Regions from separate parts of the Homo sapiens genome. Here regions 2, 3 and 4 are each linked to region 1. The links are contacts of gene promoters, found by promoter capture Hi-C in human tissues and cell types (Jung and others, 2019). All regions are on one chromosome and are shown on one strand. The core of a region is centred on a gene start or on the middle of the fragment in contact, and the rest is flanking DNA. Distances in the headings are between cores, read along the strand shown. Region 1 holds the start of TUBB4B (tubulin beta 4B class IVb). Region 2 overlaps RABL6 (RAB, member RAS oncogene family like 6). Region 3 overlaps TRAF2 (TNF receptor associated factor 2). Region 4 holds the start of PNPLA7 (patatin like domain 7, lysophospholipase).

Region 1 (6,103 bases), core at 2,461-4,960:
AGGGGATAGAGGTGCAGCCACTCAGGAAGATGAGGCCTGAGGGGGCCCCACGGCCACTTCTCCTCTGTGGCTCTGTTCTTTTCTGCCCTCAGTTTCCCTTTGCCCCTGCTCATGACCCCCAGACCCTCTGTGCCCTTGGCCCCCAGTCTTCCCTGGGTCCTCTGCCCCAGCCACCCCTCAAACTCTTAGGCCTCCTGGGCCTTGGTTTCACCTACCGAGGGAGGTGACCACCTGCTCTGGGAGCCAGGGGTGCCTCAGGGGTGGGCTCCAGTGAGAATGGGACCCCCAGCAGCTAGAGCTTTGGTTCTCACAGCCCTGTGATTCTAGGACGCCCCTGTGGACCTGACATCAGCCTCATAGAACCGTCTGGCACCCCTGTAGGGGACAAGCCTGGCTAGCTCCCTGGGGAGCCTGAGGGGCCGGGGAGCTCCCCTGTCCTTTGGGGGGGGATCAGTGAGGCCCTTGTGGAGAGAGGGAGGAAGCACCCCATGCACCTGTCCTTCCAGGGCAGGTGAGGCCTCCCACAAAGGCTGGGCGTCTGGTCCTTTAAGGCAGCCAATACTGTCTGCCTGCTGTCCCTGCCTGGCGGTAACACACCCTCCCACTGGGACCATGGCCACCAGTAAACAGAGCCTTCGTTGTGGATCCTCCGACAGCTGCAGGAGGAGGAGGGCAGGTGCCCAGCACTCCCACAGCCACGCCTGCCCCGCTTCCCTGCCCTTCTGGCCCTCCTTGGACCACATCCTGCCTGGCCACAGACCCCAGGCCCAGGAGTTGGTCCTCCTGCCCCACACTATCCCGCCTCTCCATCCTGCAGCAGGGCACCTTGGCTCAGGGTGGGACCTACAGAGCCTTCCCCAACCAGTTTTGTGCAACAGGGGTGGCTGCTGTCCTTGTTGGGCTCAGGCCCAGGCTTCAGGGTGTCTACTGCTGTCTTGTCCCCAGCCAGTGTCCACCTCACCAGGGCAATGCAAGGGCAAAGTAGGCAAGCTGGTGCCATGGCGAGCTCTGGGGCTCTCACCTGGGCAGGTGACACCTGTGAAACGGGTGGCACACTGACCTCCCAGCCCTGTGGGCACTGGTCACAGGAAGCAGGGGCCTTTACTGGAGAGGGGTTGGGAGACTCTGACAAGGTGCAGGAATGCCACACACCTCAAAGAGCAGCCTCAGTTGGGCTCTGCACAGTTCACTGAGGAAAAAAACAGAGCTTCTCCTTCTCCCCTTTGTGACAACTCAATGTTATGAGACTCCAACATGTCCCTGACTACTGCCTGGACAGCTGAGCTACTCTGCAGGACCCCAGGATGCCCTGGGCACTAGGAGAAACCTGGGATGGCTGGCAGCAACCTGTGCACCCCTCAGGCCGCTGCAGGACCCCAGTCCCTCTGAGGGTCAAGGCCTGTGTCACAGTGGTCACTGGAAGCCAGGCCCGCCTTCCTGGGCTGATCTGTGGGGGAGGCCACCCTCCTGGACAGGATGGCAAACTGGCAACAGACCCCCGAGGAGTGAGCACAGCTGCAGGCCCTCGCCCCAGAAGGACAATGCTGATCCCCGCGCATGCTCCGGTGCTGCGTGTCCCGAGTTCTGGTATCGCGCATTATGTGGTGAAGACAGAGGTGCAGTCCCTCCAGGAAGAGAGAAATAAATAAGCAGATGTTGTTTCCAACAGCCTCCAATTGGGAGACAGATGCCCAGTGGCCAGAGCACAGGAGACTGTCAGGGCCGACCTGATGGTGTAATTTATTTAAAATGCTACAAAAATACAGCCAGGTGCAGTGGCTCATGCCTGTAATCCCAGCACTTTGGGAGGCCGAGGCGAATGAATCACAAGGTCAGTTCCAGACCAGCCTGGCCAAGATGGTGAAACCCCATCTCTATTAAAAATACAGAAATTAGCCGGGCGTGGTGGCGGGCGCCTGTAATCCCAGCTACTCGGGAGGCTGAGGCAGGAGAATCGCTTGAACCCGGGAGATGGAGGTTGCAGTGAGCCGAGATCATGCCACTGCACTCCAGCCTGAGCGACGGAGCCAGACTCTGTCTCAAAAAAAAAAAAAAAAAAAAATAGCCAGGCGTGGTGGTGCACACCTGTAGTTCCAGCTACTTGGGAAGGTGAGGCAGGCGAATTGCTTGAACCGGGGAGGCAGAGGTTGCAGCGAGCTGAGATTGCGCCACTGCACTCCAGCCTAGGCGACAAGAGCAAAACTCCATCTCAAAAAAAAAAGAAAAAAGCTACAAAAATGTAGAAGGCACGGCGGCTCATTCCCGTAAATCCGAGCACTTGGGGAGGCCGAGGCGGGCGGATCACTTGAGGTCAGGAGTTTCAGACCAGCTTGGCCAACATGGTGAAATCCCATTTCTACCAAAAATACAAAAATTAGCGGCGTGGTGGTGGGTGCCTGCAGTCCCACCTACTGGGGAGGCTGAGGCAGAAGAATCGCTTGAACCTGGGGGGGGGCGGGGAGCCAAGATCGCGCCACTGCACTCCAGCCCGGGAGACAGAGCGAGACTCTGTCTCAGAATAATAAATTAAGTAAAATAAAAATGCTGCAAAAATACAGCCCGTTTGTTTTTAAACAGGCGCAACCACATGTAATTCATTTTAAGTTTCTTTTCCCACCCAAGTAAAAATCAAGTCATAAATTAGGAAAAGCATTAACAGAAGTATGTTTCAGCCCCAGCGCGCTGACCTGTGGTTGGAATACCGGCCCTGGAGCCCGGAGGTCGGGGCCCACCCGCCGAGGGAGGTCTGGGCGCTGTCCTGGTCTCCACGGAGCTCGCGCACTCACGGGGCCGAGGCACCAAGGCGACCGGCGCAGAGCCAGCGCCGTCTCCACAACAGGGCAGGGCGCGCAGCTGCGGGGGAGGCCTCGCCCCTCCGCTCCCCTCCCCTGCCCTCCGCCCCGGCCCTCGGGGCGCGGCGTCCCCCACGTGCTCCCCTCACGCGACCGCGAGGGCAGTGGGCGTGCGGCACCCGGGAGCAGGAAACTCCGTGGCCTCTGCGGCTCTGTGGAGAGCTCCCCTCCACCGCCGCAGCCCCCGAGCCCGTGTATCTTCCTGCCTTTAAGGCATCGCAGCCTCCTCGGCCTGGAGGCCCCGGGCTCGCTCCGTGCGGACCCCGCTCCAGAACCCGCCCAGCGCGCAGATGCCGTGTCCCGGCGCAAGGCCAGAGAGGGCGCAACTCTGGACGTGGGGCCGCCACCGAGCCTGCCCTTCCCGGCTCCCGAAAGGCCCCGGGCTCAGAGCCAAGACTGCGCTTGCCCGAGGCCCGTCGGGCCCGCCCTCCCTCGGCGCCCCCAGCGCAGCTGCCCGCCGCCCGACCGGAAGCCCGCACTCGCGCCTGCGCCCCACCCCGTCCGCGCGCCGGCCGCGGCACTGCGGCGGTTACCAGGACGCTGAAGCAGCGCAGCCAATAGCGCCAGCCTGGCGGCGTGCTCCCGGCAGCCAGCCAATGAGACGGCAAATCAATCATTTGAAACACCCAATGGACGGAGCACTGCGGCGCCAGGAGGGGGATTGTGATAGGGAGATAGGAGGCTGCGGCTGACCAATAAAGACCAAACTGGCTTAAAAAGGCGGACCTTAGGCAGCTTGATTGACGGGGGCAAGGCCAATCAAACGAGGGAGCTTGCCAGCCTCGTTCTGGCAGCCCATTCCGAGACTAGCGGAGGCGGGCAGGGAGGGTATATAAGCGTTGGCGGAGCGTCGGTTGTAGCACTCTGCGCGCCCGCTCTTCTGCTGCTGTTTGTCTACTTCCTCCTGCTTCCCCGCCGCCGCCGCCGCCATCATGAGGGAAATCGTGCACTTGCAGGCCGGGCAGTGCGGCAACCAAATCGGCGCCAAGGTAAGTTGCCGGGGCGCTGGGGCCAGGCGGGCCTGCCGGGCGGTGTGGGCGGGCGGCCGGGGAAGATGGCGGCAGCAGCGGCCGGGCGGCGCCCCCGCATTGCGGCCGCCGGGCCCCCTCCGCGGGGAATTGGCCGAGCCGGGCGACCGAAGCCCCCAGGAACCCGGCGGCCAGGGCGCGCGGGGCGGGGGAGGGGCGGGGAGGGCCGGGCTGCCGCGCCCGTCCGGGGCGGGGCTGCCTCCCTGCGCACCGGCCGCGGTGACTCAGCCCCGGCCCGCCCGGGCCCGCCCGCGTCCCTTGTAGTTTTGGGAGGTGATCAGCGATGAGCACGGCATCGACCCCACGGGCACCTACCACGGGGACAGCGACCTGCAGCTGGAACGCATCAACGTGTACTACAATGAGGCCACCGGTGAGGCCCCGGCCCCTTCCCCGACCGCCCTCCGGGGACCCCGCGGCCCCTGCCTTGGCTGACGCCCTCCCGTCCCCGCAGGCGGCAAGTACGTGCCCCGCGCCGTGCTCGTGGATCTGGAGCCCGGCACCATGGACTCCGTGCGCTCGGGGCCCTTCGGGCAGATCTTCCGGCCGGACAACTTCGTTTTCGGTGAGCCGTGGCTGGGGACTGGGCGGCGGCTCAAAGGTCAAGGGGCTGCTCCAAGGGCACCGCCGTGGGAACTGCGCAGCCGGGGCCCCTGGACGCCCTCCTCTTCTCTGAGCCACTCAATCCCCTCTACTAAATCGGCTTTGGGAGCAAGGTCCAGCTGTCTGCCGAGGCGAGGAGCCGCCACACACGTAATCTCCCTGCAGGGAGCTGAGCTGGGGCAGTGGCTGTTCCTCTGTCCTTGGGAATTGGCAGTGGCCCCCCCGGGGAGGGGTTTGTTAAGCTGTCAGGTTTGGCCCCTGACTTAATTCGTAGCAGGGCAGGCTGCCGTCTTTTGGCTTTGAAGGGTCCGTTTGCTCTACCTCCAGGGTGAATTCTGTGGTCAGCTCACACCATGTCACTCGGCTTTTTTCGCATGGCGGTGACCAGTAGTGCTGTCTACCTGGCTGACAAATGATTAGCTGTGTTCTCTCACAGGTCAGAGTGGTGCTGGGAACAACTGGGCCAAGGGGCACTACACAGAAGGCGCGGAGCTGGTGGACTCGGTGCTGGATGTTGTGAGAAAGGAGGCTGAGAGCTGTGACTGCCTGCAGGGTTTCCAGCTGACCCACTCCCTGGGTGGGGGGACTGGGTCTGGGATGGGTACCCTCCTCATCAGCAAGATCCGGGAGGAGTACCCAGACAGGATCATGAACACGTTTAGTGTGGTGCCTTCGCCCAAAGTGTCAGACACAGTGGTGGAGCCCTACAACGCCACCCTCTCAGTCCACCAGCTCGTAGAAAACACAGACGAGACCTACTGCATTGATAACGAAGCTCTCTACGACATTTGCTTCAGAACCCTAAAGCTGACCACGCCCACCTATGGTGACCTGAACCACCTGGTGTCTGCTACCATGAGTGGGGTCACCACCTGCCTGCGCTTCCCAGGCCAGCTCAATGCTGACCTGCGGAAGCTGGCTGTGAACATGGTCCCGTTTCCCCGGCTGCACTTCTTCATGCCCGGCTTTGCCCCACTGACCAGCCGGGGCAGCCAGCAGTACCGGGCGCTGACCGTGCCCGAGCTCACCCAGCAGATGTTTGATGCCAAGAACATGATGGCTGCCTGCGACCCCCGCCATGGCCGCTACCTGACGGTTGCCGCCGTGTTCAGGGGCCGCATGTCCATGAAGGAGGTGGATGAGCAAATGCTTAATGTCCAAAACAAAAACAGCAGCTATTTTGTTGAGTGGATCCCCAACAATGTGAAAACGGCTGTCTGTGACATCCCACCTCGGGGGCTAAAAATGTCCGCCACCTTCATTGGCAACAGCACGGCCATCCAGGAGCTGTTCAAGCGCATCTCCGAGCAGTTCACGGCCATGTTCCGGCGCAAGGCCTTCCTGCACTGGTACACGGGCGAGGGCATGGACGAGATGGAGTTCACCGAGGCCGAGAGCAACATGAATGACCTGGTGTCCGAGTACCAGCAGTACCAGGATGCCACAGCCGAGGAGGAGGGCGAGTTCGAGGAGGAGGCTGAGGAGGAGGTGGCCTAGAGCCTTCAGTCACTGGGGAAAGCAGGGAAGCAGTGTGAACTCTTTATTCACTCCCAGCCTGTCCTGTGGCCTGTCCCACTGTGTGCACTTGCTGTTTTCCCTGTCCACATCCATGCTGTACAG
Region 2 (6,103 bases), core at 1,719-4,218, 430 kb before region 1:
GAGGGTCCTGGGCAAGGTCCACCTCATGCACCAGGACCACCCCTGTGTGGTCCTGGGCGAGTGTGACTAAAAAGGGCAATGGGGTCCTTCCAGAGGAGAAAAGCCAGTCTCCAGTACTTGGAGAACAGGTTATGATCTCCTAGAACTGAATGAAAGGTGGTGAGACAGAGAGAAATTTGAATTTGTACCTAAATTACATTTTAGAAAGATGTTATCTTTATAGCTGAATAACATGCAATTTTAAAACTTTTGAGTTTCTGTGTTAGAATAGAAAGTTTCTAGTATTTCTTTTCTTTTCTTTTCTTTTTTGAGACAGAGTTTTGCGTTTTGCTGTGTCTCCCAGGCTGGAGTGCAGTGGCGTGATCTCAGCTCACTGCAAGCTCCTCCTCCCGGGTTCACACCATTCTCCTGCTTCAGCCTCCCGAGTAGCTGGGACTATAGGCACCGGCCACCACGCCCGGCTAATTTTTTGTATTTTTAGTAGAGGCAGGATTTCACCGTGTTAGCCAGGATGGTCTCAATCTCCTGACCTCGTGATCTGCCCGCCTCAGCCTCTCAAAGTGCTGGGATTACAGGCGTAAGCCACCATGCCCGGCTTTCTGGTATTTATTTTCTCAAATATTTTACAGAGCGTAACAGACCAGCAATGTGATCAAGACAGAGTCGAGGGTTTTGGGGGTGAGAGTTTCTGGGAACTGCTGCGGGTTTCCAGGAGTCTGGGCTCTCCTCCTGGGCCCTGCATTTGCTCGGAGTTGCTAGTGGTCCCGGTAGACGTGTGGGACACCCACTGGTTTTAGAATAAAAACTCGAATGAGACATTGGACCATAATGGATGAAAAAGTCAAACTCTGTCAAATATTTGAAGAGATTTATTTTTGAGCTGAATATGAGTGACCATGGCTCGTGACATAGCCCTCAGGTGACCCTGAGGACATGTGCCCAAGGTGGAGGGCACAGCTTGGTTTTATACATTTTAGACATGAGACAGTAATCAAATACATTTAAGATATATGTTGATTTGGTCCACAAAGGCGGGACAACTTGAAGTGGGGGCTTCCAGGTCGGAGGTAGTTTAAAAAAATTGTGTTTTTTTGCCGGGCGCGGTGGCTCACGCCTGTAATCTCAGCACATTGAGAGGCCGAGGCAGGCGGACAACCTGAGGCCAGGAGTTCAAGACCAGCCTGGCCAACATGTCGAAACCCCGTCTCTACTAAAACTATAAAAATTAACCGGGTGTGATGGTGGGTGCCTGTAATCCCAGCTACTCAGGAGGCTGAGGCGGGAGAATCGCTTGAGCCCAAGTGGCAGAAGTTACAGTGAGCTGAGATTGTGCCACTGCACTCCAGCCTGGGTGACAGAGTCAGACCCTGTCTCAAAAAAAAAAAAAAAAACAATTGCACCACCACACCCAGCTAATTTTGGTATTTTTTAGAGAGACAGGGTTTCACCACGTTGCCCAGCTGGGCTCAGACCCCTCTACTCAAGCAGTCCGAACCCCTTGGCCTCCCAAAGTGCTGGGATTACAGGCGTGAGCCACCGCGCCTGGCCAGATTATGTTTCTTATCAGACTTAAAGTCAGTGTTGATGTTAAATGCTGGTGAGCTTTTCCTGAATTCCAGAAGGGAGGAGGCCACAATGAGGCCTGTCTGACTCCCCTCTTCCCATAATGGCCTGAACCAGTCTTTCAGATGAAATTTGGATGGCCCTGGCCTAGAAGAGGAAGTCCATTCAGATGGTTGGCAGGCCTTGGGATTTTAATTTTGGTTTACACAATTTTGAAATTATTTGCATATAAAATTATTAGGAAAATTATTTGAAATTATTTGGAAGAAAGATTGTTGCCTGAGTTGGTCTGTCCCTTTCTACTGTGACTGGACACAAAATATCAGTTGTATTTGGTGCAGAATTTTTCTGTGGAGTTGCTCCTGAGTGAGCATTATTGTGCAGCTCTGATACTGGCCTGGCCCAGGAGCTCGGACAACCAGAGTCCTCTCTGAGTAGACACTGGTGCGAATTTAGAAATGGGACTTAGCAGGCCGGGCACGGTGGCTCACACCTGTAATCCCAGCACTTTGGGAGGCTGAGGTGGGCGGATTACATGAGGTCAGGAGTTCAAGACCAACCTGGCCAACATGATGAAACTCATCTCTACTGAAAATATGAAAATTAGCCAGGTGTGGTGGCGTATGCCTGTAATCCCAGCTACTCGGGAGGCTGAGGCAGGAGAATCGCTTGAACCCGGGAGGCAGAGGTTGCCGTGAGCCAAGATCACACCACTGCGCTCCAGCCTGGGCGACAGAGTGAGACTTCGTCTTAAAAAAAAAAGAAAAGAAAGAAAAGTTTATATGAATATCCAGTCAAAACAAACAAGGAAGGTATTACCCTTGAAATGTTGTCTATACGAATTTCCAAGGAGACCACAGGACTGTAGACTGTCTTGGAATGTCCTCAGAGAGCTCTGTCATTGATCAGGTAACGGAATAAAAACCCCAGCGTCCTTTCTTTCAAATGGGAGAGGGAAAGACAAAGGGACAGAAGCCGTTCAAACTTTGTCTTCTTTCCTTGTGGCTTGTGGTCACCTCTGCCTCCCCAGAAGCTGCCTCGCCCACCAAAGCCTTCCTGGCTTCTGCCACCACCTCATCCTCCAAAGCTTCCTCTACCTCCATCACAACCCCAAAGCCACCTTCGCCCTTAGGTTTGGCCCAGTCCAAGTTACCTTTGTTTCCCTCAATTTCACCATCTTCCGCGGCCTCCTTGGCGCTTTTGGCATCCTCCTCACTGTTGCCATCTACAGAGCCAAAGCCTTTGGGGCACCCGGTTTCCTGGTTGGTGACTACCCTTGCCCAACAAAGCTGTCGAATGACTAAAGCCTCTTCAGTGGTGTCCTCAGACAGGCCTTTGACAGACAGTTTTAGATGGCTGGCTCCTGGCATCAGGTGGTCCTTGCAACTCCAGCCTGATTGCCCTGCCCCCAGTTTCCCTTTTATTACAGGAATTTAAAGCTGCTTTATCATCTTCAAATGAAGCGAACTGTAAGTGCATGCACACCCTTTAGATTTGCCATTTTGGTTCTGGGGCACTTTGATAAAAGTTGCCTTGTCTCAGATTCTTTCTGAAGAGTTTCTTCTGTTGCACTGTAGGAGAGGTTGCTTAAACCAGAGTTTTTGATTCACCCCTCCAAGTGGTCTCTCTAGTCTTGATTTAGACCTTTCTCTCCATGATAGTGCAGGGAAATAGATCGGCCATCCATCTCTGTTCCCTGCGTTTCTTCAGAAGTTTTCTCTGCATTAGCTTCTGTCTTAACCTCAATATAAGCAGTCCCTTTACTCTTCCCATCCTTGCTGACTAATCCAATCTCCACAGCATCTTCAAACACTTTTTTGTTTTTTGAGCCAGAGTCTCGCTCTGTTGCCCAGGCTGGAGTGCAGTGGCCGTGATCTCAGCTCACTGCAAGCTCCACCTCCCAAGTTTGCGCCATTTTCCTGCCTCAGCCTCCCGAGTAGCTGGGACTACAGGCACCCGTCACCACACCCAGCTAATTTTTTGTATTTTTAGTAGAGACAGGGTTTCACCGTGTTAGCCAGGATGGTCTTGATCTCCTGACCTCGTGATCTGCCTGCCTTGGCCTCCCAAAGTGCTGGGATTACAGGTGTGAGCCACTGCGCCACTGCGCCCAGCCAAAACACTTGTAATTCATCCTGAGTGACTTTGTAAGGGAGATTTGTAGCCAAAAGTATTCTCACATCTTGCTCTTTCTTACTGTCTTTTCCTTTTGGTTTCTCTAGTTTAATTTCATTGCCAAAGTCTTTCAAACCAGCGAGTTCCAAGGCTCTTTCCAGGTCTTCAGCAGCTTGAAAATCCACATAGTCAGATTTCCTTGTCATACCCATTCTGACATCCACAACAGCAAGATCATTTTTAGCAAAAATATCATGGATACTAGTTTTTGTTTTTCTTTCTTTTTCGAGACAGGGTCTTGCTCTGTTACCCAGGCTGGAGTGCAATGGTGCTCACTGCAGCTTCCACCTCCCGGGTTCAAGTGATTCTCCTGCCTCAGCCTCCCCAGTAGCTGGGACTACAGGCACGCACCACTACGCCCGGCTAATTTTTGTATTTTTAGTAGAGACAGGGTTTCATTATGTTGGCCAGGCTGGTCTCAAACTCCTGACCTTGTGATCTGTCCACCTCAGCCTCCCAAAGTGCTGGGATTACAGGCGTGAGCCACCAGGCCTGGCCCATGGATACTAGTTTTTAACTCAGGAGCAGACTTGTTAAAGTTCAGGTTTCCAACAAAGATTGAAAGACGTTCCAGCCTGGCCAACATGGTGAAACCCCGTCTCTACTAAAAATACAAAAATTAGCCGGGTGGTAGTGGTACACGCCTGTAATCCCAGCTACTCAGGAGGCTGAAGCAGGAGAATCACTTGAGCCTGGCAGGTGAAGGTTGCAGTGAGCCAAGATTGCGCCACTGCAGTCCAACCTGGGCGAGAGAGTGAGACCCTGTCTTAAAAAAAAAAAAAAGGCACAGTTGGTTCTGTGCTTCTCACTCTCCACTTTGTGTTTCTTGGCTTCAGAAGCTGCTGTTTGGTCATTTCCTTCATTTTCCAGGTGCTTCTTTGACAGACCCTTCCTCCTCTTTGTCGTCTTCATCACTTCATCCTCTTCATCATCGTCACCCTCGTCCTTGTCCTCATCATCCTCTTCATCTTCATTCCCAGCCATCCTCTTGGCTTTCCCAGGAACAGCATTTGTAGAAGCTTTCTTTCCTTTGGCTGGTGTTGTTTCCATAGGTGCTGCTTCAGAGCCATCTTCCTCAGCATCGTCCTCATCGTCCTCGTCCTCATCCCCTGAGGCAGGGGCACCCGCTGCTGCCTTCATCACTGCTGGTTCAGAGTCATCCTCCTCCTCATCGCTGTCTTCCTTCTTGGCGTTCTTGCCGTTCTTTGCCCCCTTGGCTGGGGTGTCCCTTCTTGCCAGGAGCTGCTGCCAGTGCTTTGCCTGCTATGGCTCCCTTCTTGGCAGGTGTGGCGACTGCTTTGCCTGGAGTGACAGTTGCTTTCTTGGTGGGTGTGGCACCTGCAGCCTTTTTTGTTCGGGAAACTGTCACCTTCTTGGCTGGGGTTGCAGCAGCCTTCTTGCCTTTCTCCTGAGGTGTGACAGTCTCTTCTCCACAGCTGTCATCTTCTTCATCTTCTGACATTTCCTCATCTTCACTTCCTCCTTCTGCCTCCTTTGGGGGAGCAGCCATTTTCTTGGGGTCACCTTGGTTTTTACCTGCCTCGACACCAAGTAGTCTGAAGCTGCTGAGGATGGGAAATCTTTGCAGGGTGCAGAGTGGGAGAGGAGCAAGGTGTGGCTGACACCAGCTGCAGCACAGGCTGTCAGGGTGGGGAGGTGGCTGGGCCCTTGTAATGGGCCCAGGAGATGCTGCTGGCACTGTGAGAGGGCCTGGTTAGGAGTTAAACCTTCATGCATCTGAGATAAATCATAAGCTCTTCTTGGTATGAAAATGTAAGAAAATTATTCCATATTTTGCAGGAAAGCTGCAGGAATGTGAAGGAGTTAAATTGAATCAGGGTAAGAAAGGCTCAGGGCCTCAAATAGAGCTCTGTGTTTTCTGCATTGTATCTTCTAAAACAAGCTTAGAACAGAGGTCGTGTTCACATCCCGTTTAGTAAAAGAGCAGGTTTACCATGAGGTTAAGTACAGGTAAGTACAGGGCTTCTTAGCGTTTCTTGGATGAATCCTAAAGGTTTTCCAGGAGAATCACTTAGCTTATTGCAGCCAACATTTAAGATTCTGAAGTTAAGCAGAAAAAAAGAAAACCCAAGATCAAGGGACCAGCAGGAGAAAAAAAAGATTCTGAAATTGATTTTATTTATTTAGGGTCTTGCTCTTTCGCCTGAACTGGAGTGCAGTGGCGCAATCTTGACTCACTGCAGCCTTCACCTCCCTGGCTCAAGCAATCTTCCCACCTCAGCCTCCTGAGTAGCTGGGACTACAGGTGCACGCCACCATGCCTGGCTGAGTTTTGTAATTTTTGTAGAGACAGTGTTTCACCATGTTGCCCAGGCTGGTCTCAAACTCCTGGGCCCAAGCGATC
Region 3 (6,103 bases), core at 2,522-5,021, 350 kb before region 1:
AGCCACCGCGCCCGGCCATGAAATTACAGTTTTAAAGTTAACTTCTAGTATTTGGAGGGCCTCATATTCATGGCTGCATGCAGATCAGTGTTCCTGAATATTACTCAGATGAGCTTTTATAGAAGTGGGTTAGAATCAGGTGCCATTGACGCCTGTAGTCCCAGCTACTCCGGAGGCTGAGGCAGGAGAATGGCGTGAACCCGGGAGGCGGAGCTTGCAGTGAGCCGAGATCGCGCCACTGCACTCCAGCCTGGGTGACAGAGCGAGACTCCATCTCAAAAAGAATCGGGTGCCACCCAGTGAACTCTTACGTGGAGTCCAGTATTGTATGAAGCAGTTGTGTGCTGTTGGTGGAGACATGAATTGAGGTTTGAATCTCCAGCATTTGGGGCATCTTGGAGTCTGCTTGTGAGAAGGGCGAGGCCTGGGTTGAACCCAAGCGTTTGCGGCGACTAGGTGACCCCTGCAGCGGCCAGGTTGCACCCATATCTGATTTGATGTCATGGTTTGGGCAGTGTTTGACTTGTGTAACAATACAGCTTGTCCTTTTGAGAGTCACCGATGCCACCAAACCATGTTCACACACCAGAGTCAGGATGCCAGGTCTCAGCTGCCTGATGACTCCAGCTTAGTGAAGGCCTCTGATTTCTTGTGGGGGTGTCCCATTGTGAAGGGAACACACAGCTCGGCCCTACCAGCAACAAGGGTGCCAGATGCCCCCACTCTCCTGTGGAGGGGAGTCTCGCTCTGTCACCCGGCTGGAGTGCAGTGGCACGATCTCGGCTCACTGCAACCTCTGCCTCCTGGGTTCACGCTATTCTTCTGCCTCAGCCTCCCGAGTAGCTGGACTACAGGCACCCGCCACCACGCCCAGCTAATTTTTTGTATTTTTAATGGAGACGGGGTTTCACCATGTTAGCCAGGGTGGTCTCGATCTGATCTCGTGATCCGCCCACCTCGGCCTCCCAGAGTGCTGGGATTACAGGTGTGAGCCACCACTGAGGGGCTTTTTTACGTTAAAACTTGTTTGTTTGTTTTTCTTTTTTTGTTTGTGTGGTTTTTTCTGTTTTTTTTTTTTTTTTGAGACGGAGTCTCGCTCTGTCCCCCGGTGTGAGCCACCACGCCTGGCCTTTTTTTTTCTTTTTTTGAGACAGAGTTTCGCTCTTGTTGCCCAGGCTGGAGTGCAATGGTGCGATCTCGGCTCGCTGCAACCTCTGCCTCCCAGGTTCAAGTGATTCTCCTGCCTCATCCTCCAGAGTAGGTGGGATTACAGGCACCCACCATAATGCCCGGCTAATTTTTGTGTTTTTAATAGAGACAGGGTTTCTCCACTTTGGTGAGGCTGGTCTCGAACTCCTGACCTCAGGTGATCCACCTGCCTTGGCACTCCCAAAGTGCTGGGATTACAGGTATGAGCCACCTTGCCCGGCCTTAAAACCTGTTTTTGACATTTCTTTGCCATTTTAACTTTTTTGTTATTTTATTTTTATACCTGAGGTCTTGTTATGTTTCCCAGGCTGGTCTCGAACTCCTGGCCTGAAGTGATCCTCCAACCTCAGCCTCCCAAGTAGCTGGGATTACAGGTGCAAGCCACTGTGTCAGTTGGTCACCGCATGTGTGAGAGTTCCCCCCACACTTATTCAGTCGGTCACCACTTGTGTGAGAGTCGCCCCTGCATGCTCATTCAGTCGGTCACTACATTTGTGACAGTCATCCCCGCATGCTCATTCAGTCGGTCACCGCATGTGTGATAATCACCCCCGCATGCTTGTTCAGCTCGTCACCGCGTGTGTGAGAGTCCCCACCGCACGCTCGTTCAGCCGGTCACCGCGTGTGTGAGAGTCCCCACCGCACGCTCGTTCAGCCGGTCACCGCGTGTGTGAGTCCCCCCCGCACGCTCGTTCAGCCGGTCACCGCGTGTGTGAGTCCCCACCGCACGCTTGTTCAGCCGGTCACCGCGTGTGAGTCCCCACTGCACGCTCGTTCAGCCGGTCACCGTGTGTGTGAGAGTCCCCACCGCACGCTCGTTCAGTCGGTCACCGCATGTGTGAGAGTCCCCACCACACGCTCGTTCAGCTGGTCACCACGGGGGTGGCACTTTTGTTTTTAGCTGACTTAGCTGATAGAATTGGGAGTTTTAGAGTAAAACTGATCTGGAAGCCTGAAAAAACCAGCAGCACATTGTTCGTTTCCAGGTTGAATCGCTCCTAGCTGACCCCTCACGTCTCTTATGATACGTACAGAAAGCAAGAGCAGCCCATGCCGTCCGGCCGCGCACCAGGTCTCAGTCTGTGTGTCTGGTTCAGGTGACCATGGTGTTCAGTTCAGTTCCTCCTGCCTCGTGTGTAGGCCACTGAGAGCTCCCTAGTCTAAGCCGGAGGAGGTTCTGGTAAGTGCTAGGCACAGTGGAAGTCGGATTCCAACATGTGCGCAAATTGGGGCACTGTCAGAAGTGTGCTAAAATCTTGGTGTAGCACTTTTGAGCCTTCGTGGTGGTTTTCATTAGTTCTTAAAATGTATTTATGAATGAGATTCAAATAAAATGTTTAAGGAATCTCTAAGCACAAAGAACCCCAGAGTGTAGTGTGGGCATCAGTGGGACCTCAGGGTCCCCTGACCGGGCTGCCTGCCGTGTCCTGGCTGTCTGGGGTTGTGTTTTCATTTGGAAACAGGAATAATGATCCCCGACCTTCCAGCCGTGTCAGGATGTCACGATGGCCACGTGAGGCCGTGTCTGTGAGAAGCGTCTGCCGGTGGTGGAGGACGTGCACTTTGTTGTGAACCTCGGCTCACTGCAGCCTCCTCCTCCCCAGGCTCAGGTGATCCTCCCACCTCAGCCTCCTGAGTGGCTGGGACCACAGATGCGAGATCCTCCCACCTCGGCCTCCTGAGTAGCTGGGACCACAGATGCATGCCATCACACTTGGCCATTTTTTGTATTTTTAGATTTGTTTTTTTATGTGTGTTTTGTTTTTGAGACAGATGGTTGCTCTTGCTCAGGCTGGAGTGCAGTGGCATGATCTCAGCTCACTGCAACCTCCGCCTCTCAGGTTTGAGCGATTCTTCTGCCTCAGCCTCTGGAGTAGCTGGGCTTACAGGCTTGCACCACCATGCCTGGCTAATTTTTTGTATTTTTAGTGGAGACGGGGTCTCACCATGTTGGCCAGCCTGGTCTTGAACTCCTGACCTCATGATCCGCCCGCCTCGGCCTCCCAAAGTGCTGGGATTACAAGTGTGAGCCACCGCGCCCAGCCATTTTTTTGTGTTTTTGGTAGAGACAGGGTTTCATCATGTTCCCCAGGCTGGTCTTGAACTCCTGAGCTCAAGCAATCTGCCTACCTCGGCCTCCCAAAGTGCTGGGATTATAGGTGTGAGCCACCATGCCTGGCCCATTTTTGTGGTTCTTTTATGTCTGACAGGCATGCCTAGGGCAGGGAGGGCACACCTCTGTCTCCACCTTCAAGAGCGCATTTAGGAGGAATGTCGATATGAAAAGAATCAAGCTTTGTCTGAAAGATGCACCAGGACACTCTTCAGTGACATTGGGAAAAAAGAACGCTCACCCTGAATCTTTTTTTTTTTTTTGAGACGAAGTTTCGCTCTTTGTGCCCAAGCTGGAGAGCAGTGGTGCGATCTTGACTCTCTGCAACCTCTGCCTCCCAGGTTCAAGCGATTCTCCTGCCTCAGCCTCCCAAGTAGCTGGAATTACAGGCGTGAGCCACTGCACTCGGCTAATTTTGTGTTTTTAGTAGAAATGGGTTTCTCCATGTTGGTCAAGCTGGTCTCGATCACCACCTCAGGTGATCCACCCGCCTCAGCCTCCCAAAGTGCTGGGATTACAGGCATGAGCCACCGTGCCCGGCCCATTCTGAATCTGTCTACCCTAGCAAAACGATCCTTTATTTTACTTTCTTGCCCCATTCGTACACTGGCATGACTGCACTCATAGGGTTCTTCACATTTTATATCCTATTTAACATCTTATAATAAGTATAAAATAGGATTTTGTCCTAAAGAATGTGGTTTAAGGCCAGGCGCGGTGGCTCACGCCTGTAATCCCAGCACTTTGGGAGACCGAGGCGGGCAGATCACGAGGTCAGGAGATCGAGACCATCCTGGCTAACACGGTGAAACCCCGTCTCTACTAAAAAATACAAAAAATTAGCTGGGCATGGTGACTGGTGCCTGTAGTCCCAGCTACTTGGGAGGCTGAGGCAGGAGAATGGCGTGAACCTGGGCGGTGGAGGTTGCAGTGAGCCAAGATCGCGCCACTGCACTCCCGCCTGGGCGACAGAGCGAGACTCCGTCTCAAAAAAATAAATAAATAAAAAGAATGTGGCTTAAAAACCAATGATACTTAAAAATAGAAAATTTCTTTGTCCAAAGTGGATTAGAAGCCACTTTGTTCTAAAACCATTAAACCTTTTTAAACTGTTAGTGGCTCAGCCAGGCACAGTGGCTCATGCCTATAATCTCAGCACTTTGGGAGATTGAGGTGGGCAGATTATCTGAGGTCAGGAGTTCGAGACCAGCCTGGCCAACATGGTGAAACCCTGTCTCTACTAAAAATACAAAAATTAGCCAGGCGTGGTGACAGGCGTCTGTAATCCCAGCTACTCGGGAGGCTGAGGCAGGAGAATCGCTTGAACCTGGGAGGCGGAGGTTGCACCTTAGATCACACCGTTGCACTCCCGCCTGAGCGACAGAGCAAGACTCTGTCTCACATGAATAAATAAATAAACCATTAGTGGCTCATGAAATCAATGTAATAGCTTCTGACCAGAACAAAAGAAAGAAAATAGAACACTCAGAATGCCTCTTATGAAGACTAAGTGTAGTTCTGTGAACCTTTTAGTGACGTACATGTATGTAGCACGTCTCCACATGTCATGATGAATGTGCGCTGAGGGTGCAGTCCTGGTGAGCAGGCTACCACCTCAGTTTGCCACGGCTGGTATGCATCTGTGAGCTCCGGAACATCCACATAGCTCTGCCGCCCACAGGAGCAGGTGCACCCACCTTCGAGAAAGTGGGAGAAACAGGTGTGGCGTCCCCACCGAGGGACCTTGAGCACTGGGCAGGCAGAGCCCCAGCGTCCCTTCTGTTGGGTGGTTGGAGGAGTAAGTTTAGGTTATAAGCATGTTTTCTGAACTCTGAAGTGCCACACGAATGTAAGGTCTCACTAAATTACAGATTCAGAAGCTGGGATTGAAAGCACACCACTGCTGGCTTTGGGGGGCAGACAGGTGACTGACAGTCTCGTCACAGTTTCTCAAGAGTCAGCCCTATTCAGGTCAGTGAGCGCAGGTCAGGGATGAGGTCGCTGCACTCTGCGTTCCCCAGTCCTGTATGCGGCGTCAGTTTTGGCAGTCCACGTGTCTCTCCTGTAGAGGATTAGAGGGGCCAGCCCCATGGGTCTGCAGGGTTGGCGCACCGTCTGGGGAAGACACTTGGAATGTGCTTTCGTTGGTGAGCCAGGTCAAGGAAACTTTGGGGAATGTTTGCAGAGAGCTGAGGATGGTTGTCTTGGGGCCTAAGTTTTTCTGACTTAAAAAGCACCTCCTATTTGGGGTCTGTGTGGTAGTGACCCTTTTTCTTTTTTACTTTTTTTTTCGAGACGGAGTCTCACTGCAATGCGCAGGCTGGAGTGCAGTGGTGCAATATCGGCTCACTGCAACCTCTCCTTCCCGGGTTCAAGCGATTCTCCTGCCTCAGCCTCCTGAGTAGCTGGGATTACAGGCGTGCACCACCACGCCCGGCTAATTTTTGTATTTTTACTAGAGATGGGGTTTCACCATGTTGGTCGGGCTGGTCTCAAACTCCTGACCTCGTGATTCTCCTGCCTTGGCCTCCGAAAGTGCTGGGATTACAGGTGTGAGCCACTGCGCCTGGCCTTTTTTTTTTTTTTTTTGAAATGGAGTCTTGCCTCATCGCCCAGGCTGGAGTGAAGTGGTATGATCTCAGCTCACTGCAACCTCTGCTTGCTGGGTTCAAGCAATTCTCCTGCTTCAGCCTCCACAGTAGCTGGGATTACAGGCACACACCACAATGTCCGGCTAATTTTTGTATTTTTAGTAGAGACAGGGTTTCACCATGTTGGCCA
Region 4 (2,500 bases), core at 1-2,500, 310 kb after region 1:
AGGCCTTTGCCATGTGGCTACAGATGTTTGACTAAGAAAAAGATTCTAGGGCTGGGCACAGTGTCTCACGCCTGTAATCCCAGCACTTTGGGAGGCCGAGGCGGGCAGATCATGAGGTCAAGAGTTCAAGACTAGGCCGGGCACGGTGGCTCATGCCTGTAATCCCTGCACTTTGGGAGGCCAAGGCGGGCGGATCACGAGGTCAGGAAATCGAGACCATCCTGGCTAACACAGTGAAACACCGTCTCTACTGAAAATACAAAAAAATATTAGCCGGGCGTGGTGGTGGGCGCCTGTAGTCCCAGCTACTTGGGAGGCCGAGGCAGGAGAATGGCGTGAACCTGGGAGGCAGAGCTTGCAGTGAGTTGAGATCGTGCCACTGCAATCCAGCTTGGGCGACAGAGCAAGACTCCGTCTCAAAAAAAAAAAAAAAAAAAGTTCAAGACCAGCCTGGCCAACATGGCGAAACCCCGTTTCTACTAAGAATACAAAAATTAGCCGGGCGTGGTGCCTGTAGTCCCAGCTACCCGGGAGGCTGAGGCAGAATTGCCTGAACCCAGGAGGCGGAGGTTGCTGTGAGCCAAGATCACACCATTGCACACCAGCCTGGGCGACAGAGCGAGACTCCGTCTTGGGAAAAAAAAAAACACAGAAAAAGGTTCTAAGCAAAACCATCAGGCAAAGTCCTAAAGGAACTGGAAGTAGCAACTGTGACCTTAGGGGAAGAAAAGACAAGGCCTCAGGCAATGCCCATGGGCCACCGCTGGCTGCCCTCGCTGTGAACAATGCCCATGGGCCACCACTGGCTGTCTGCTGTGACAGGCGCGTCTAACAAGTGCTGGCAGCTGTGACAGGCAGCAGAGAGGGGCCAGATCCACCACTCCCACAGTCCTCAGGCGCCAAGAAGCCACGGGGCCAAAGAGCGCGGCAGAGCAGACGCCAAGAGGACCCTTCTCTGGGTCCAGAAATGCCCCCCAACTGGGAAATCCAGGCATCTGGTCCCCCGAGTTACATACCTGTGGGCTGTCATCTTTCTCTTCCTCCATGGCCAGAAACAGAAAAAACAGTCAGGGGCGAAAAGCAGACAGCCTGAAGCAAACAAGGGCACACCTCTACCCGCTCATGCTCACACCTGGACACTTTTCCCTGGGTTCCTTTCAAGTCAAATTATGTTTCACTGAAAGGAAAATCCTGCTGAAAAAGTCTGTTCTCCAGGAAGAAAAGCTGTCTTTTGAGAAGTGTCTGTCATCTGCTAGGAGCCACCTCCTTCCCTCTGTAAACAGCCCTCACGTGGCTGTCCCGGAACCCAGAACAGCAGCCAGATGGGGCGTATCCAAGCAGGTCAAGAGGAGCCAGGCCCAGCGCGGCGGGGATGGGGGCAGCGCTGCCTTCTGGAGAAGCACGGCTGGAGGGGAGGTGACGCTGGCGGGGCGTGGATCCGGGGTGTGGGGATGCAGCTGGGGAGGAGGGTGCAGCTGGGGAGGGGGTGGATCCGGCGTGTAGGGGTACCGCTGGGGAGTGGGTGCAGCTGGGGAGGGGGTGGATCTGGGGTGTGGGGGTGCCGCTGGGGAGTGGGTGCAGCTGGGGAGGGGGTGGATCCGGCGTGTAGGGGTACCGCTGGGGAGTGGGTGCAGCTGGGGAGGGGGTGGATCTGGGGTGTGGGGGTACTGCTGGGGAGAGGGTGCAGCTGGGGAGCGCGTGGATCCGGCGAGTGGGGGTACCGCTAGGGAGGGGGTGCAGCTGGGGAGGGGGTGGATCTGGGGTGTGGGGGTGCCGCTGGGGAGGGGGTGCAGCTGGGGAGGGGGTGGATCTGGGGCGTGGGGGTGCCGCTGGGGAGGGGGTGCAGCTGGGGAGGGGGTGGATCTGGGGCGTGGGGGTGCCGCTGGGGAGGGGGTGCAGCTGGGGAGGGGATGGATCTGGGGTGTGGGGGTACCGCTGGGGAAGGGCGTGCAGCTGGAGAGGGGATGGATCTGGGCTGTGGGGGTGCCGCTGGGGACGGGGTGCAGCTGGGGAGGGGGTGGATCCGGATTGTGAGGGTGCGGCTGGGGGGCGACTTCCGCGTGGGGTGAGAGGTCGCCTGCGAGGGTGACCGGGCAGGAGGGCTCAGTGCGCAAGCCGGACGTGCTGGGTCCAAGATTATTGATTAATTTGGGCACCGCGAGGGCTCGAGTCCCCCCACACCACTGCCCGGCCTGCGGGGGAGCACAGACAGCCCGGGCCCTCCCGGCTGCAGGTCCCGGGCTTTCCCCGCGCGGTTGCCGGCTCCGCCCAGAGGAGCCGCGCCCGGCGGAGGGGTAAGAAAGGCAGGGTCGCGGCGTCAACGCGGCGGCCGTCTCGAGTCCAGGGCCCGCGTCCTCCCCGACCTCCCGACGCCACCTCACGGCCTCAGGGGGACTGGGCTCCCGGGAAACCGCCGGCCACCTGGCGGACGAACACAGGCAGTGGCGGGCAGTGGAGACGCCAGGGACCACCGCGCTGAGAGCGATCACTCATCCGCCAG

Evidence for each region. The method cuts DNA at HindIII sites, captures the fragments that hold promoters and counts their contacts. A contact is called where the count stands out against the background at its distance.
Region 2: a contact is called between a fragment that was not itself captured here and the fragment with the promoter of TUBB4B in region 1, in 1 of the 25 tissues and cell types used here (dorsolateral prefrontal cortex).
Region 3: a contact is called between a fragment that was not itself captured here and the fragment with the promoter of TUBB4B in region 1, in 1 of the 25 tissues and cell types used here (dorsolateral prefrontal cortex).
Region 4: a contact is called between the fragment with the promoter of PNPLA7 here and the fragment with the promoter of TUBB4B in region 1, in 1 of the 25 tissues and cell types used here (spleen).

What each region holds. Positions count from the first base shown.
Region 1 is chr9:137,237,577-137,243,679 of GRCh38, forward strand. TUBB4B (tubulin beta 4B class IVb) reads left to right here and starts at 3,711. Exons shown (of 4, transcript NM_006088.6): 1 at 3,711-3,841; 2 at 4,145-4,253; 3 at 4,335-4,445; 4 at 4,920-6,103. The coding sequence starts at 3,785. The coding sequence ends at 5,980. It overlaps CIMIP2A (ciliary microtubule inner protein 2A), which reads right to left. Exons shown (of 7, transcript NM_001001710.3): 7 at 6,023-6,103. RefSeq lists silencers at 2,736-3,555, 3,886-4,115. The HindIII fragment of the contact is 17,682 bases long and covers 2,266-6,103 here.
Region 2 is chr9:136,810,244-136,816,346 of GRCh38, forward strand. The region is part of intron 1 of RABL6 (RAB, member RAS oncogene family like 6); the gene reads left to right. It also overlaps the pseudogene NCLP1. Among named protein-coding and RNA genes, the nearest start is that of CCDC183-AS1, 4.4 kb to the left of the region's middle. The HindIII fragment of the contact is 4,462 bases long and covers 738-5,199 here.
Region 3 is chr9:136,888,154-136,894,256 of GRCh38, forward strand. The region is part of intron 1 of TRAF2 (TNF receptor associated factor 2); the gene reads left to right. Among named protein-coding and RNA genes, the nearest start is that of MIR4479, 4.5 kb to the left of the region's middle. The HindIII fragment of the contact is 4,380 bases long and covers 1,582-5,961 here.
Region 4 is chr9:137,549,152-137,551,651 of GRCh38, forward strand. It overlaps PNPLA7 (patatin like domain 7, lysophospholipase), which reads right to left and starts at 1,251. Exons shown (of 35, transcript NM_001098537.3): 1 at 1,017-1,251. The coding sequence starts at 1,046. RefSeq lists an enhancer at 360-861 and a silencer at 2,050-2,500. The HindIII fragment of the contact is 18,703 bases long and covers 1-2,500 here.